Regions from separate parts of the Homo sapiens genome. Here all the other regions are linked to region 3. The links are contacts of gene promoters, found by promoter capture Hi-C in blood cells and fetal thymus (Javierre and others, 2016). All regions are on one chromosome and are shown on one strand. Each heading gives the region's core, a stretch centred on a gene start or on the middle of the fragment in contact. The rest is flanking DNA. Distances are from core to core; before and after follow the strand shown. Region 1 overlaps LOC105371143 (a long non-coding RNA gene). Region 2 overlaps LOC105371143 (a long non-coding RNA gene). Region 3 holds the start of CHP2 (calcineurin like EF-hand protein 2).

Region 1 (2,910 bases), core at 248-2,747, 740 kb before region 3:
AGGTGACTCATGTTGCGTTGCCTAGAGGACGGGGTGGGGAAGGAGTGAGCGGGAAAGGGCGTCAGAGTACCGAGCATGATTCCACTTATAGGAGGGATTTAAAATAGTCAAATGCACGGAATCAAAGAGTGGAATGGTGGTTGCTAGGGACTGGGGGAGGGCAAAATGGGGAGTTACTAATCAATGGGCAGAAAGCTCCAGTCAAGCAAGATGAATAAGCTCTAGAAATCTGCCGTATGACATTTACCTATAGTCAGCAGGAATGTATTGGACACTTAAAAAATCTGTTAAGAGAGGAGATCTCATGTTGTGTTCTTTTTTCTTTTTTTTTTTTTTTAAGAGATGGGGGTCTTGCTATGCTGCCCAGGCTAGTCTTGAGCTCCTGGCCTCATGCGATCTTCTGCCTTGGCCTCCCAAAGTGCTGAAATTACAGGTGTGAGCCATTGCACCTGGCCCCTAGTGTTCTTATCACAATTAAAAAATAAAAAAAGATGGCCAGGCATGGTGGTTTGCACCTGTAATCCCAGTGCTTTGGGAGGCTGAGGTTGGGGGGATTGCTTGAGGTCAGGAGTTTGAGACCAGCCTGGGCAACACAGTGAGACCCAGTCTATATTTTAAAAAAGAGAGAGAAAGATGGACTATATCACATCTGTTTCTTTGCATCCCATTTTTCATCTCCTCCACCTTCACTTTGTTTTACTTCTTGTCAGCCTCAAGTCTTGGGGATGGGGTTGAAGATTCTGTGGCTAGCCCAGGTCTGCCTTTCTGGGATACACTGCCTGTCCAGGGAAGTGCTGCCCAAGAGAAATGTCATCTGACCCACACATGTAATTTTAAACTTTCTGCTAGCCACATTAGAAAGGTAAAGAGAGGCCGGCGTGGTGGGACATGCCTGTAATCTCAGCACTTTGGGATGCCAAGGTGGGAGATTGCTTGAGCCGTTTAAGATGAGCCTAGGCAAAATGGTGAGACCCTGTCTCCACAAAAATAAATAAATAGCTGGGCATGGTGGCTCAAGCCCGTAATCCTAGCACTTTGGGAGGTGGAGGTGGGCAGATTGCCTGAGCTCAGGAGTTCAAGACCCACCTGGCCAACATGGTGAAAGCCCATCTCTACTAAAAAAATATAAAAATTAGCCGGGGGTGGTGGCGTACATCTGTAGTCCCAGCTATTTGGGAGGCTGAGGCAGGAGAATCGCTTGAACCTAGGAGGCAGAGGCTACAGTGAGCCGAGATCGTGCCACTGCACTCCAGCCTGGGTGACAGAGTGAGACTCTGTCTCAATAAATAAATAAATATGAGGCCAGGCACGGTGGCTCACGCCTGTGATCCTAGCACTTTGGGAGGCCGAGGAGGGCAGATTACTTGAGGCCAGAATTTTGAGAGCAGCCTGGAAAACATAGCAAAACCTGTCTCTACAAAAAATTAAAAAATTTTGAGACTCCGTCTCAAAAAAAAAAAAAAATTAGCTGACTGAGGTGGGAGGATGGATTCAGCCCAGGAGGCTGAGGCTGCAGTGAGATATGATCACACCACTGACTCCAACCAAAAAATAAAAGACACCCATGACAATTTTCTTTTTTTTTTTTCTTTTTTTTTTTTTGAGACGGAGTCTCGCTTTATTGCCTAGGCTGCTGGAGTGCAGTGGCACAATCTCATCTCACTGCAACCTCCAACCCCCTACCACGGGTTCAAGTGATTCTCGTGTCTCAGCCTCCAGAGTAGCTGGGATTACAGGTGCCCCCCACCACGCCCAGCTAATTTTTGTATTTTCAATAAAGAGGAGGTTTTGCCATGTTGGCCAAGCTGTTCTCAAACTCCTGACCTCAAGTGATCCGCCTGCCTCGGCATCCCAAAGTTTTGGGATTACAGGCGTGAGCCACTGTACCCGGCTGACAATTTTCATAATGTTTTATTTAACCCAATATGACTAAATTACTGTTACTTCAGTGTGCTATTAATATAAAACATCGTTATTTTCTTTTTCCATACTAAAGTTTTTTAAAATACTGGGGTGTAATTTATACTAATGATCCCAACTTAATGCAGACTGACCACATTTCAAGTGCCCAATGGCCACATGTGCCCATGGATACTGCAATGGACAGTGGAGCTCTAGAGCTCTGAACCTCTGTGTTCTGGGGTGACCTCACTCCCGTGACTAATGTCAGAAGATGGCTGTAAGGCCCAGGGCTATTTGTGTCCAGCTCCAACTTAATCTCTCCTGGGGAAATGAGCTTTGTTCTCTTTTAGTGGAGAATCTGTCCTTGGTTTGCCCATTGTGGGATGTTTTCTAGAGCACAGATGCTAATGTTGTTCTAAAAAACTGGGGTTCTTGGCCAGGTGAGGTGGGTCACACCTGTAATCCCAGCACTTTGGGAGGTTGAGGTGGGTGGATCACTTGGTCAGGAGATCGAGACTATCCTGGCTAACACGGTGAAACCCCATCTCTACTAAAAATACAAAAAATTAGCCAGGTGTGGTGGTGGGCGCCTGTAGTCCTAGCTATTCAGGAGGCTGAGGCAGGAGAATGGCGTGAACCCGGGAGGCGGAGCTTGCAGTGAGCTGAGATCGCGTCACTGCACTCCAGCCTGGGCAACAGAGCGAGACTCCATCCCAAAGAACAAAACAAAACAAAACAAAACTGGGGTTCTTCATCAGGCAAGTAACAAAGACTCTTTATAGGGATGTAGGTTTGGATCAATAGGAGTTTTATTACTTGATACAAGTAAAGGAGAACATTGAGAGTATTCTCCAAAGCAGTGTCTTCCCAAGGGAAAGTGATAGGCGAGTTTTATGGGGTAATAGAGAAGGGAGAGGGTGCAGCATTGCGTGTAGTGGGGTCTCAGTTGTGCAGATGCGCTGAGCTATCATGCCAGCACATAGGTTGCATGTTAAGGTAATGAAGCTA
Region 2 (2,708 bases), core at 83-2,582, 720 kb before region 3:
ACCAGGCTGGTCTCAAACTGCTGACCTCAAGTGATCCCCTGTCCTCGGGCTCCCAAAGTGCTGGGATTACAGGCATGAGCCACCACGCCTGGCCGAGAATTGTTAACTAGGAATCAAGTTGATAACCAGGCAACTAAAAAGGAAAAAAAAACAACAAAACAAAACCAACCCAACAACAATATTAATGTATCACAGAAGAAGCAACTGAAGGAAACAGCTATACTCAGAGGTCTGGGGGAACAATGAGAAAAGGTTGGCATTAACACTTAGAATCAGCCAAGTGCAGTGGCTCATATCTGTAATCCCAGAGACTCAGGAGACCAAGGTGGGAGGATTGCTTGAAGCCAGGAGTTTGAGACTAGACTGGGCAACATAGTGAGACCCTGTCTCTACAAAACATAATAAAATTGGCCAGGCAGAGTGGCATTCACCTGTGGTCCCAGCTACTCGGGAGGTTGAGGTAGGAGGATCACTAGAGCCCAGTTACAGTGAGTATGACTCACTGTAACTACACTCCACTACACTCCAGCCTGGGAGACAGAGTGAGACCCTGTCTCAAACAAACAAACAAACAAACCAAAAAATCACTAGAATAATAGGAGAAAAGTGCCCTGCAAACTGAAACTCAGATCTCTAAGGAGGGACGGGGGTTGGAGTCTTTGAGGGGTGCAATTAGACTGGTTCTGCCAGTGTTAGGAAAACTGCAAACTGGATTGAGATGCTGCTATGGGAAGGAACTGCCATTGCAGGAGAAAGGAAGCCTTGCTAGGAGAGTGTTCACAGGAACAGAAAGAGCAAGTTCCTTTTTCCTCCAGCCTTGCAGTTCCCCTCTAACACCCCCATGGGTAGAACCTCACAGGAAGCAGCTGGAACAGCAGAAATATGCTTTTCCCAATTCCAACTCTTGTATCACAAAGCAGAATACAGAAGGTTGGGTTTGGAGTTGAGAGATAACAACTAAATAATAGCTGGCACAAGGCCCACCTGATCAGAAATTAATCTCACCTCCTTGGGGATAAGGGCTTTGGGTGGGAGGAAAGGAGGCTCTTGAACTCATGGGCATTGAGCACGTGACTAGTTGTCTTAGAGAAAATGTGCCACCCTGCAGGGCCGCCTGAAAGCTTGTACAAGTGCCTGAGGAAAGCCGGATTTGGCAGGCTGCAACCACGGTGGATGACAGCTGAAGGAGAATTACAGCAGCAGCAGTTAAGTAGAAGATGTTCACACTTCCTCGCTCTGCATCTTTCTTCCTGGAGCCCAACACCTCGGAGGAGAATGGGAAACCCAGAAGAAGGAGTGGGAAGTAGGGTTGCCACATAAAATATAGGACTCTCAGTTACATTTGAATTTCAGATAAGCAGCAGATTATTTCTTAGTATAAGTATGTGCCAGTATGTGTGTATGTGCACACATATGTGCACATGTATGCATGCATCAGCTAGATTCTGCAACCATCAGAGAAATAGACAAAGGTCCTTTTGACCAGTGGTCAAACTGAGCTATGAGGAGAAGATCTTGAAATTGCATGTGATATTGAAGCTTTAAACTTACTGAGTTGCTTGTGTTAGGCTTTTAAATACCGTAATGGGACTAAAAACTATGTTTCTAAGAGAGAGGAATATTTGGGAGTACAGCTGACCCTTGAACAATGCAAGGCTTAGAGGCATTGTCAAAAATCCACATGTAACTTTTGACTCCACAAACATTTAACTATTTTTCTTGTCTTTTTTCTTTTTTTTTTTTTGAGATGGAGTCTCACTCTGTCTCCCAGGCTGGAGTGCAGTGGGGTGATCTCAGCTCACTGCAACCTTCACCTCCCAGGTTCAAGCAATTCTCAAGCCTCAGCCTCCTGAGTAGCTGGGATTACAGGTGTGCACAAAGATGCCTGGCTAATTTTTGTATTTTCAGTAGAGATGGGGTTTCACCATGCTGGCCAGGCTGGTCTTGGACTCCTGACCTCACGTGATCTGCCCACCTTGGCCTCCCAAAGTGCTGGGATTACAGGCATGAGCCACGGCATCTGCCCAAAAACTGAACTATTAGTAGCCTACTGTTGACTGGAAGTCTTACTGATAACATAGTCAATTAACACATGTTTTGTGTTATATGTATTATATACTATATTCTTACAATAAAGCAAGCTAGAGAAAATAGAATATTAAGAAAATCATAAGGAAAATATATTTAGGATTCTTTTTTTTTTGAGATGGAGTCTTGCTGTGTCACCCAGGCTGGAATGCAGTGGTCAGCCTTCCAACGTGCTGAGATTACAGGCGTGAGCCACTATGCCCGGCCATATTTACTATTCATTAAGTGGAAGCGGATCATCATAGATGACTTCATCCTCATCCTCTTCACACTGAATAGGGTGAAGAGGAGGAGGAAGAGGAGGGGTTGGTCTCACTGTCTCAAGGGTGGCAGAGGCAGAAGAAAATCCAGGTAGAAGTGGACCCAAGCAGTTCAAATCCATGCTGTTCAGGGGTCAACTGGGTCAACTGTGTAGTTAAAGGTAGTGAGTAGTTGGAGAAAAATGAAACTGCTTTCGTGTTTATACCTTCACTGAGTTCAGACCTCGTAATAAACTGGGTATCTGTATGTGTGACAAACAATAGAGGAGATGTGTGTGCAGGGTGTTCAAGGGGCTTTTGCATCTTTGCTGGTGATCACAAATAGGGCTTTAATTCTTGGACTTGAAGAGCTGCAGGAGC
Region 3 (2,800 bases), core at 127-2,626:
GAGCTGAAATGCATCTGGGGAGAGGGTGGGAGGGGGAAAGGAAGGTAGGTCTTCCCTGGCTCTCTTCCAGCAGCCACCTTCCTTCCCCCCACCTTGGAGGAGGGGGGAGGTTGTCAATGCCCTCAGGAAGGGAGTGGGAGATCCCTGGAGCCTGTCCCTGGTGTGGGTACATCTGCATTCTCACTTGTGCAGGTCCTCACAAACTCACAGTGAAGTTTGTTCCTTCTGCTGTTGAGAGGTTCAGGTTTCTTGGGGTCTTGGGTTTCTGTGTCCTCATCTTCTACAGGGCGAAAATGAGCCAAGACCCTGACAAAGCCTGGGAAATCCACTCGCTGGCTCCTGGGGAGACGGGACAGAATGGAAAGAGGTGGTGGTCACCTTGGCCATCACTTTGCCTCCGTCTCTAACCTCCCCTCCCACCCACTCACACACCGGTTTTCCCGCCTTCACCTCCCCACGCCCAGCAAGCCTCACCCATCGGGGAAGAAGCTTTCTATAATTCGGTCTCCCAGGGGGTTCACGGCGAGCGCCCCTATCTGCTGGAGATCCATGCGGCTGCAAAGCCAAATTTCAAAGAGGGTAAGGCAGAGATGCCAGACGGAGGGTCAAAGAGGGACATGGAGTCAGAGAGACAGAGGCCAGAAGTTATGAGGCCGGCTCCCCCTCACCTCAGGTAGCCCTTCTTATTCCTGTCCAGTGCCCGGAACCGGTGGTGCAGGCGGAGCAGGCTGGCTTGGGAGACTGCGGGAAGGAGAGTGGGGTGGGGGTGTGTGACTCTGCAGGGCCAGCTCCAGAAACCCGCCCCAACAGGCCAGGAAGATGGGCCAGAACAGCGGGGGCTGGCTGGAAGGGGCGATCATCCCGGGGAATCAGGGGTTGAGCTGGCCGGGGCGGAGGGAGAGTGACACGACCCCGCGAAGATCCAGGTTCAAGACCCGGGCGGCTCGCAACCTCCCGAAAACCAAAGAACCAAAGCCATCCCTTCCAACCGCCGTCAGCTCTGCCTTCAGCTTCGAGCCGGGCTGGAGGACACCTGGGTGCCTGGATTCCTCTGGACTCCGACCCCGTGAACCCGGATCCTCCCCAGACTTGGAGGCTGGGACCCCTAGGTTAACCCGCCCCTAACCCAGCGATCCCAGGCACAGGGGCCTTGGTCTTCCAGCTCCGGGGAGCCCCGGACCCCAGACTTGTAAGTTCGTCCATCCTTCAACCCAACCCCTTCCCTAGCCCCAGACGCCTGGGTTCGCCCCGTCCCCTCCGCAGCCGCCGACGCGGGCGCACTCACAGCCGGTCTCTCGCCGAATACTGTCCCCGTCGGGAATGACCGCGGCGTGGGAGCTGCGCGACCCCATGGCCGAGCTGGAGGCGGAAGGGCCGGAGCAGCCACCCGGACCCACGCGTTCTCTCCTCCCGCCGGAGAGGCGTGGCCGCCCCAGTGGCCCCAGGGGGACGAAGGCCACAAGCCTGGCGCGCGGCCAAGCTCCAGAACCCCGGCGTGCCTCTCCTCCCACCCGCGACCCGGGCGAATGGAAAACAATGTGCAGGGTGGCGGGTCAGAGGGAGGCTGCGAACAACGGGCTGTTTCAGCTCCGAGATTTTGCGATCCGCACGGGAGAGGCTGGTCGAGTCCCAGGCCCCGCGTTTCCACGCCTCCCCCGGGGCCGGTTCCCACGGTGCGCCCTGACACCTGAGCCACCTCCTCCTTCGCGGGCCCCGGGCGCTCCCAACCCCAGGGCGCTCCCCGGCGTCGACGCTGAGGAAGCCTGGGAGACCTGACCTCCTCTGTAGAGACCACGCCCTGCTGGAAGGCGGGTGGCCTATGGGGAGGGAATCCTGGGGGGAGGGGGGAAGAGGCATCGAAGAACTCCCAAAGACGGGGAAGTGGGGAGGGGCGGCGAGATGAAGGGTGTGCGTTAGGTTAAGTGGAAAGAGCACTGGTTTGGGAGTCCTTGTTGGAATCCCAGCCGTGCCCGTGACTCTGGGAAAGTCAGTAAATCTTGGTTTCATCCCTTTTGTTCGGTTCACATTGCCTTATTGTTGTTTAATTGAGCCAATGCTTAAAATTCAGGAGATTTAACCCAAAATCCACATTCTTGGCTTTTCCTGAGAAATCAGAAGTTCTATCACCACCAGGCCCAGAGCTGTCTTCTGGCCACAGTCCCTCCAAGCCCAATTCACTCCCTTAGGTACCTACTGATCCCGTAGAGCTCCAGACTGGGAATGACTTAGTCCTCTGAACAGCCCTCCAGAGCCATGGGACTCCTTGGCCCAAGAGAGGGTTACAGACATCACTGGGACTAGGCTTAAAGCAAGAATGACAACAAGGGCTCTTGTTTACCACGCTTTGCTAAGCACTTTACGTGCATCCGTTCACACATTCCTTGTAGGCCCTGCTGGGCTGCTTTCTTCTAATTTTACGTGGTGGAGGCTGCCGGGGGCAAGTTGTGAACTAATTATGTAAAGCGTGCATTCTCAGTGCGGTCTCTATCTCACCCCAACGGGGCAAAAAATAAAACATATTTTTTATGTACAAAGCACAGCATACATACAGCACATAAATAGATATACAGTATAGCTGTGATATTGAAATTTCAGGGCAGACGTGGAGGCTCATGCCTGTAATCCCAGCACTTTGGGAGGTAGAGGCAGGAGGATTGCTTGAGCCCAGGAGCTCAAGACCAGCCTAGGCAACATAGTGAGACCCCATCTCTACAAAAGAATACAAAAAAAAAAAATTAACCAGGTGTCGTGGCACATGCCTGTAGTCTCAGCTACTTGGGAGTCTGAGACAGGAGGATCA

Evidence for each region. The method cuts DNA at HindIII sites, captures the fragments that hold promoters and counts their contacts. A CHiCAGO score of 5 or more calls a contact.
Region 1: a fragment that was not itself captured here is called in contact with the fragment with the promoter of CHP2 in region 3 in 2 of 17 cell types (M2 macrophages and naive CD8 T cells); the score reaches 5.9 in M2 macrophages.
Region 2: a fragment that was not itself captured here is called in contact with the fragment with the promoter of CHP2 in region 3 in 1 of 17 cell types (M0 macrophages); the score reaches 5.1 in M0 macrophages.

Annotation. Positions count from the first base shown.
Region 1 is chr16:24,491,178-24,494,087 of GRCh38, reverse strand. All of the region lies in intron 1 of LOC105371143 (a long non-coding RNA gene), which reads left to right. Among named protein-coding and RNA genes, the nearest start is that of RBBP6, 47 kb to the left of the region's middle. The HindIII fragment of the contact is 5,778 bases long and covers 1-2,910 here.
Region 2 is chr16:24,470,241-24,472,948 of GRCh38, reverse strand. It overlaps LOC105371143 (a long non-coding RNA gene), which reads left to right. Exons shown (of 4, transcript XR_950928.3): 3 at 1,109-1,205. Among named protein-coding and RNA genes, the nearest start is that of RBBP6, 68 kb to the left of the region's middle. The HindIII fragment of the contact is 418 bases long and covers 1,124-1,541 here.
Region 3 is chr16:23,753,602-23,756,401 of GRCh38, reverse strand. CHP2 (calcineurin like EF-hand protein 2) reads right to left here and starts at 1,376. Exons shown (of 7, transcript NM_022097.4): 1 at 1,286-1,376; 2 at 669-741; 3 at 475-555; 4 at 209-339; 5 at 1-14. The coding sequence starts at 1,352. RefSeq lists an enhancer at 843-1,488. The HindIII fragment of the contact is 3,392 bases long and covers 492-2,800 here.